2 separate regions of the Homo sapiens genome follow, and region 2 is linked to region 1. The links are contacts of gene promoters, found by promoter capture Hi-C in blood cells and fetal thymus (Javierre and others, 2016). All regions are on one chromosome and are shown on one strand. The core of a region is centred on a gene start or on the middle of the fragment in contact, and the rest is flanking DNA. Distances in the headings are between cores, read along the strand shown.

Region 1 (4,447 bases), core at 912-3,411:
TCCTAGGGCTCAGGACAAGTGGCTCCCCTGGCCAGGAGAGCCACAGCCATGATACAGGGCTCTTATGGAGCCCTGGAGTTGTTGGGCAAGGATGCTGTCATTTTTTGAACCAAAAGACAAACAGGTTAAAAGGAAAAAAAGTAATCTGAATTTCCCAAGTGCCTACGCTGCATATTCCCCTTGTTAGATCCCATTTTCATGTTACTTTGTAGCCTTGGCCAGAGGCTCAAAAAGGACACAACCAGTTTGGGGAAGGGGTGGCTAAGGAAGATGGTATAGGTGAAGGCGGCTGTGTGACCACTTTCCCCCACCCTTCCCACCCTCTAGACAACTCTCTCCCTTACCTGTTTTTGCTATGGCTGTAAAGGTATTTTTCCTCTGCCCCACTCCCTGCCATACCTTTATCCTGGGATCCTATTTTGGGCCTGGGGTGGGTATACCTGGGGCTGGTCTTAGGAGGGTGCTAGGCTGCAGACTGCCTTGTACTCCCTGGACACCCTCAAATGGGGTTTTCTGTGTTATTTCATAAAATTCTTTGAAGTCCAATAAAGCATGTAGGAGATTTTAACCACTGCTGGCTTTGACTCTCATTGTGTTCTCTGTGCTGTGGCATGATGGGATAAAGAGACAATCTTTCCTTTGCCCAGGGAAAATGAAACTTGAATGCACATGCCCAGAAGCTCTGTGGGCAGGGTTACCAGATAAATGCAGGATGACCAGTTAAATGTGAATTTCAGATAAACAGTTTTTAAAGTATAATTTTCTCTCATGCAGTATCTGGGACACATTTTTATTTGCTAAATTGGGAAACCCTATGTCTGGGTAAACTTGACCCTATCTATCCTATAACTTCACTTACGACTTTTAAAAAACATATCTATTTAATTTTTCTTTCTTTTTTTTTGTTTTTTTTGAGACGGCGTCTCACTCTCTTGCCTAGGCTAGGGTGCAATGGCGCGATCTTGGCTCACTGCAACCTCTGCCTCCAGCGTTCAAGCGATTCTTCTGCCTCAGCCTCCTGAGTAGCTGGGATTACAGGCGCGTGCTACCATGCCTGGCTACTTTTTGTATTTTTAGCAGCGGGGGGGTTTCACCACGTTGGTTAGGCTGGTCTCGAACTCCTGACCTCGTGATCTGCCCGCCTTGGCCTCCCATAGTGCTGGGATTACAGGAGTGAAGCACCGCGCTGGCCTACTTTTTCTATTTTTTGTAGAAATGGGGTCTCACTATGTTGCCCAGGCTTATCTCAACACCTGGCCTCACATGATGCTCCCGCCTTAGCCTCCCAAAATGCTGCAATTACAGGCTCACTTACGACTTTCCATGATTTTTGAAATTACTTCACAGGGAGCCTGGGCAGCTTCTGGAGGGCAGTGAGAAACCAACGAAAAGGCTTTAGGGAAAAGATGCCACAGATGAAATTTCATAAAGATCGCTTTGGGTAGCCCAAATCAGAAGCTTCTACACCAGCCTTACATATTACGGTTCTCATCTATTCTTATTCTCCACTCTAAGTCACCAAGTCCATCCTACCTCCACAAGGCAAATACCCTGTCTCTGCCACCATCCACTGAAGAACCCTAAAAGCAAATGGGTACTGACCCTGCCCTGCTTAAAATTCTCTCAGGGCTCTGATTTGCGTCAGGATAAAATCCAAACGCCATCGGCCTTGCGCGGTTTTCTTCCAGTTCCAGAGTGTCAGTCCTCTGGCCGATCTAAAAGCCCTGGGGCTCCAAGCTGCCCACGGCTGTGGAGCCTGGGCTGGAGCCCACAGCGGACGGCAGTGTTAGTATTATTATAATAAATGTCAGAGCAAGAAAAACGTTCCCGCCGGTTAGGTTTTGTTATTTCAAAAATAAATTAACCGCCTTTCCTCCGGCGGAGACGCGCAGGTGAGAGGGCGGCGCCTGACCCAGCGGGCTCTAGGTGCTACGCCAGGGCCCCGAGGGTCCCGAACTCGGCTTGCCCACACAAAACATGGTAGCAGGAGAGCAGCATTTCCGCCGGGCATGTCCATATCCAATGGGGCCCATGGGAGAGGCGTAGTCTTCTGGGTCTTGCCCAGACTCAACATGGCGGCTACACGTCGCCTGTCAGTCTGTGAAGCCTACCCCGGGCGTGGGCCGCAGCGTCGAGTAACGTCATTCGAACCCCGTCGCGCCCCTTTGTGCGTCACGGGTGGCGGGCGCGGGAAGGGGATTTGGATTGTTGCGCCTCTGCTCTGAAGAAAGTGCTGTCTGGCTCCAACTCCAGTTCTTTCCCCTGAGCAGCGCCTGGAACCTAACCCTTCCCACTCTGTCACCTTCTCGATCCCGCCGGCGCTTTAGAGCCGCAGTCCAGTCTTGGATCCTTCAGAGCCTCAGCCACTAGCTGCGATGCATGTGATCAAGCGAGGTGAGGGGGGGACGAGGTGGGCGAGAAGGAAGGTGAGGGGATGCGGGCTGCCGCCGCCGGAGCTGATGCCCAGACCGCCCGCCCGCCTTCGCTGCTTCCCGCCTTTCCCGCATTTCCCGCCGCGGCCTTCCGCCCTGTCAGCCCGCTCGGCCTTCTGTCTTCAGTCAGCCTGCCCCGAACCTCCTTCGGGCCTTCAGGCTGCGCCCCCTCGGCTTTGTCATCCTGCCGCCTTTCAAAAGGATAACACTTACCCCGTATCGAGTAGTGACTGCGTACGCCGAGCACTTGCCAGGCACTATTTTATTCCTCCCTGCAAGCCTCTGAGAGATGATTAGCTTATTACAGATGAGGAAACTGACGCTCAGAGCGAGGTGTCGCCGACTGACCCAAAGTCACCCATAGGTGACAATACGGTTTGATTTGAAAACCGTGGGGTTGGTGAGCTGTCTTAGGCACAGGGTCGGGGGGCAGCTAGGAAAGAAGGAGGGGGCCTCTCTACCCTCCGTAGGCACTTGTCAGTTTACTGATCTCTTTTGTGGGGTGAGGATAGGAGTGTGGCGTGGAAAAAACAGATCCCAGACAGACAGCACCCTCGAGTTCCTTTCCCTTCATGGGAAGAGATGCTGAATCAGAGAAGGGTGGCTGAGACATCTTCTGACAAGATGGGGACTGGGAAGAGTCAGGAACTCGTATTCTTTCTCAACAGTTCTTTTTCATTAGACTTGCCAAGTGCCCGCTTTGTGCCCAGCCCTTTGCTTGGCTTTGTGAGATTGTAGGAGGAGACAGTCCCTGCCTTGGGAACAGGCTTCATCGGGTTGGAAAAACAAGAGCAACATACTTTTAACAACCGCATGAGATACGTATGAACAAGTTTTGAGTTGAACCTACTTGCCTTTGTTAAAGCAATACAATGATTTCAAAATTGTAGGCACTTAGTAAATACTGGTTAATCGACTGGTTGTTTCTATTTTGTCCTCTAGGCTGTGAACATTTCAAAGATGGAGACTTGTTTGAGACAGAGTCTTGCTCTGTCACCCAGGATGGAATGCAGTGGTGTAATCATAGCTTACTGTAACCTTGAAGTCCTGGGCTCAAGCGATGCTCTTGCCTCAGCCTCTCAAGTAGCTGGGACTATAGGCATGCACCACCATGAGTGGCTAATTTTTAAAAATTTCTGGTAGTAAAGGAGTCTTGCTGTGTTTCCCAGTCTGGCCTTGAATTCCTGGCCTCAAACCATCCTCCCTTCCTTGGCTTCCCAAAGTGCTGGGAATACAAGCAAGATGGAGACTTTTCTGTTCACGTTTAGCACAGGACCTGACATGAACAGATTCTTAAAGAATGAATGAAAATAGTTGTATCAAAATGTAGGACACGATGAATGCTGTGAATAAGCAGGTAGTTGATTTGGTTTAACTACAGCCAATGTCCAGATTGGTTTAACTACAGACAAGAGTTGGAAAGGTGGACAGTAGTGGCCTTTCTTGTTTTTGGTATCTTGAGAACATCATTCTGTGAATTTTCCTAGCTCACATTTTAGCTGACCAAAGAGCAAAATAACATAGTGCACTTTTATTGATCCATTCATAAGAGTGAGAGCTGAGCATCTATTTTTGTATTTTTATTTTTTTACATTATTATTTATTTGTATTTTTTTAGAGAAGGAGTCTCGCTATGTTGCCCAGGCTTGTCTTGAACTCCTGGGCTCAAGCATTCTTCCCACTTCAGCCTCCCAAAGTGCTTGGATTACAGTGCTGGGAGCCACCGCACCTGGCTTGAGCATCTATTTTTTAAATCTTTAGATATGGGAGAGATGTTTAGGATGGTCTATGATAAGTCAGTAACAAAGATGAATTGAAAATGTATGGACTTAGATGACCAGAATGGGTAAAATTCAACCCTGTGTTGAATTTTGAACTTTTAGAGTCTACTTCTAAATACTTTCGTTTAAAAAGTGCTACCTTGGCCTGGCGTGGCAGGGCATGGTGGCTCACGCCTGTAATCCCAGCACTTTGGGAGGCTGAGGTGGGTGGATCATTTGAGGTGTGGAGTTTGA
Region 2 (4,447 bases), core at 1,459-3,958, 280 kb before region 1:
CCAGAGGGCAGACCTAGAGCCAAATCCTTACTTCATAGAAGAGCAGATTCTGGAACCCCAGGGTTTCTGGGAAGTGGAGAGAGAACAGGATTGGGCTAGAGGGTATTTTGGGCCTCTTAATGTAGCACTATGGGCTTGTGCCTGTCTCTGTAGGAATGTGACTCAGTATATGTGTGTGTGATTGTGAGGGTCATGACTGTATATAATGGGTTTGAGTGGGTCGTGTGTGAGAGAGACTATATCTGTGCCTGTCTGTATGGAGATCTGATTATGTACGTGTGTATGTGTCCTGGGGTGAGTCCCGTGGCCTCTAAGATTCCATAGATGTCTGTGTACCCTCTGGACAGGGATATGGGGTGCGGGGCCAGGAAGAAAGATGTAAGACCACTTTCTCTAGGATATCAAAGTAAGTGGGGTGGGACATATGTCAAACTCTGTTATACTTGTAATTCATTTACTGACTCTATATTACCTGAGACAGAGACCCAGCCTCAGTTTCCTCATGTCTGAAATAGAATTGATTAGCTGGGCATGGGGGTATGCACCTGTAGTCCTAGCTCCTCAGGAGCCTGAGGTGGGAGGATTGCTTGAGCCTAGAAGTCTGAGGCTGGAGTGAGCTATGGTTTTCTCACTGTACTTCAGCCTGATGACATAGTGAGACCCCCATTTCTAAAAAATAAAATAGGGTTGATAATTCCTGTCCTGCTCCTTCCCAGGGCTAGTGTAGAGCTCTAGGTAGAAGAAGGATAGGAAGGTAGTTTAGGGAGGATGATGAAATGTGAGGAGCAGAAGGAGGAGGAGGAAGAGACTGTCAGGTTGGAAGGCAGGGCAGGAAATGAACTTAACCTAGGGGCTTTAGGTGGAGAAGAGGCAGATTCTGCGCATGGACCATTGGGGTCCCTCAGAGTTCTGAAGGCCCCAGCCAGCTGGATCCCCACTTCATGTAAAGAGCATCTGCTTCAGAGAAATGGCTAGGATTAGCAGTGGGGTCTAGCTGTGAGTATGGGGTGGAGCCCCACTTCTTTACTTCATGTGACTGGAGTTTCCTCTCCTCCTGATTTGTCAGTGGGTAGACATGGGTGTTGAGGTATGGACACCCAATCTGATGAGACCTGGGGCTGGGAGCTATTAGAAAGAACTGGACGAAAAGGGCGAACAGGCGATCTGAAGGGAAGGAGTACCCTTTTGTGACCTAGTACATGACCTAGTACCTATTATCTCAGATAATGCATCAGATATTCCTGTTACGCTAGCCACTCCTGATCATCCCGCAAAACCCTGCCCCGCTAGCTCTAAAATGTCTTCCCTATCCTCCTTGGGGCTAATGTAATCACTCCCTCCTCTGGGTGCCCACAGTTCCCTGTGTTATCTATCACATCATATTTGTGTCTGTCTTCCCAACCAGATGGGGATCTCCTTGAAGGCAGGCACTGCATTTGAGTGAGAAAGTATTTGGGTTTTTTTATTTGTTTTAGAGGCAGGGTCTCATTTCCGTCACCCAGGCCAGAGTGTAGTGGCATGATCATAGCTCACTGCAGCCTCAAACTCCTGGGATCAAGCAGTCTTCCTAACCTCAGACTCCTGAGTAGTTAGGACTACAGATGTGAGCCACTACACCCAGCTTAATTAAAAAAAAAATTGTGGAGATGGGGTCTCGCCATGTTGCCTAGGCTGGAGTGCAGTGGCATGATCATAGCTCACTGCAGCCTCAACCACCAGGGCACAAGTAATCCTCCTGCCTCAGCCTCCTGAGTAGCTAGGACAATAGGTATGCACAACCATGCCCAGCTAATTTTTGTGTATGTGTGTGGAGACGGGGTCTCACACTGTTGCCCAGGCTGGTCTTGAACTCCTGACCTCAAGTGATCCTCCCACCTCGACTCCCAAAGCACTGGGATTATAGGCGTGAGCCACTGTGCCTGGCCAGAAAGTGTTGGTTGAATAAATGATTAAGACTCCCTAGCCCAGTGCCCTGGGGAAAGGAAGGCATGGTATAAGTCAATCATAGTCCAAGCAAAATTATAATATTTGTATAGTATATGGAGTTAAACAGACTAGGCTGTTTGCTCTGCCCCTTATGGCTGACCCCAAGGGCTGATGGCATCAATACCCTATTAGCTAGGTTATTGCATACCTTGCATACCTATTACCTGTTCTGGGCATACCAGTTAGGGAATTAAGATATAGATAGTTGCTGGAGTACTTGGTCCCTCTGGAGCAGTACTAGGTCTGTGACCCTGAGGGTATGTTGTCCCCACTGCCTGAGCCTACGGTGTTGGTTCCACCTTGGAATTTTTATATTTGCTCTGAATTTCCCACTCAGAGTATCCCAGAAATGGCCAGCCCTAGGAATAAAAGAAGCAAGCTAGTCCATCATATCTGTAATTGATTACTTTGCCTCTGCTCGCATATCCCCAGTGATGGGGAGCTTCCTTCCTCCCCAGGTAGCCTGTTCTAAGGAAGCTTAATAACTAATAATTAGCCTTTTTCTTTTATTTTCTTTCTTTATTTTTATTTAGATGTAGTCTCACTCTGTCGCCTAGGCTGGAGTGCAGTGTTGTGATCTCAGCTCACTGCAACCTCCGCCTCTTGGGTTCAAGCAATTCTCCTGCCTCAGCCTCCTGAGTAGCTGGGATTACAGGTGCCCGCCACCACACCTGGCTAATTTTTGTATTTTTGGTATTGACGGGGTTTCGTCATGTTGGCCAGGCTCGTCTCGAACTCCTGACCTCAGGTGATCCACCTGCCTTGGCCTCCCAAAGTGCTAGGATTAAAGGCGTGAGCCACCATGCCCAGCCTCTTTTTTTTTTCTTTCTTCTTCTTTTTTTTCTTTTAACAGAGATAGTTTCTCACTATGTTGCCCAGGCTGGTCTTCAACTCCTGAGCTCAAGTGATCCTCCTGCCTCAGCCTTCCAGAGTGCTAGGATTACAGGCTTGAGCCACTGTGCCTAGCCCAAGCTTTTTCTTTCCTTCTTTCCTTCTTTCCTTCTTTTCTTTCTTTCTTTCTTTCTTTCTTTCTTTCTTTCTTTCTTTCTTTCTTTCTTTCTTTCTTTCTCTTTCTTTCTTTTTTTCTTTTTTTCCTTCTTTCTTTCCTTCTTTCTTTCTTTTCTTTCTTTTCTTCCTTTCCTTCCCTTTCCCTTTCCCTTGCCCTTTCCCTTTCCCTTTCCCTTTCCTTTCCTTTCTTTTCTTTTCTTTTTGAGGCAGGGTCTTGCTCTGTTGCCCAGGCTGGAGTGCAGTGGCACAATCTTGGCTCACTGCGACCTCTGCCTCCTGGGTTCAAGCCATTCTTATGCCTCAGCCTCCCGAGTAGCTGAGATTACAGGCATGCACCACCGTGCCTGGCTCATTTTTTGTATTTTTAGGAGAGATGGGGTTTCACTATGCTGGCCAGGCTGAAGCTTTTACTTATAGTGAGTATGTACTTACTTTCCGGTGAGTCTCTGCCTTGGCCCTGGCTCTGCTTTGCCGTAGAACTATTCTCTCCTCGTGGCTTCAGGTCAGCCCTGTAGAGACAAGAAGACAGTAATGAGGGGCCTTGAGTCTGTCTTCTTCTTTTTTTTTTTTTCTTGAGATGGAATCTCGCTTTGTCACCCAGGCTGGAGTGCAATGGCACGATCTCGGCTTACTGCAACCTCCGCCTCCCAGGTTCAAGCGATTCTCCTGTCTCAGCCTCCCGAGTAGCTGGGATTACAGGCACACCGCCACCATGACTGGCTAACTTTTTGTATTTTAGTAGTGACGGGGTTTCACTGTGTTACCCAGGCTGGTCTCGAACTCCTGACCTCAGGCAATCCAGTTCCTTCAGGCAACCTTCCAAGGAAATGGTTTCCAGGCTCTTCCCTATCCTGAATGTACCGTTGAACTTGGCCCAGTTTGTCACTGTTCTCTGCTGGGCCTTGATTTGGGTATAGAACTCCAGGTGGCCTGGGCAGTACAGGCAAAAGCAGGACTATTCATTCTTATTCCTGGCTGTTAGACCTCTGTTGAGGCAGCCTGAGCTGCTATTAGCTGTTTCTGCACAGGTACAGGCTGAACATCGATATCTCATATTCAGGCTTGTTGAGATCTCTTTTGTATCCTGCTTCTGTCATCATAGGATTTAGCCATTTCTCCAGTGAGGCCCAACAAGCCCTCTCAGTCCTGCTCTAACAAAAAACGGCCAGACCCCTTTTTGCTTTCTCTCTTTCCCTTATTGGAAACCTGCCTATGACCCTGGATACAACTCTCAGGAAGGTCCCTGCCCCCATCACTGGCAAAGAAGCTACTGCCAGCTGACCTCAGCCACTATCACTTCTTCCCTTTGCAGAGTGTTCTAGGATTTATGACATATGCTTGTTGATCCTGGGAAGGATGTGTGCCTGGGCAGGCGTGGAGAATTGGGTACTGTGGGCGGGAGGGCAGGCCCTGAGGAGCAGGGGGTGGGATCCTCCAGTCTTAGAATAGTCCC

The links. The method cuts DNA at HindIII sites, captures the fragments that hold promoters and counts their contacts. A CHiCAGO score of 5 or more calls a contact.
Region 2: a fragment that was not itself captured here is called in contact with the fragment with the promoter of RRM1 in region 1 in 11 of 17 cell types (total CD4 T cells, total CD8 T cells, non-activated CD4 T cells and 8 more); the score reaches 14.8 in total CD4 T cells.

What each region holds. Positions count from the first base shown.
Region 1 is chr11:4,092,638-4,097,084 of GRCh38, forward strand. RRM1 (ribonucleotide reductase catalytic subunit M1) reads left to right here and starts at 2,162. Exons shown (of 19, transcript NM_001033.5): 1 at 2,162-2,394. The coding sequence starts at 2,376. STIM1 (stromal interaction molecule 1) reads left to right here. Exons shown (of 13, transcript NM_001382567.1): 13 at 1-571. RefSeq lists enhancers at 1,792-1,861, 1,922-2,391. The HindIII fragment of the contact is 7,950 bases long and covers 1,457-4,447 here.
Region 2 is chr11:3,811,759-3,816,205 of GRCh38, forward strand. The region is part of intron 2 of PGAP2 (post-GPI attachment to proteins 2); the gene reads left to right. It overlaps LOC124902618 (a long non-coding RNA gene), which reads right to left. Exons shown (of 3, transcript XR_007062559.1): 2 at 3,427-3,503. Among named protein-coding and RNA genes, the nearest start is that of PGAP2, 5.4 kb to the left of the region's middle. The HindIII fragment of the contact is 495 bases long and covers 2,462-2,956 here.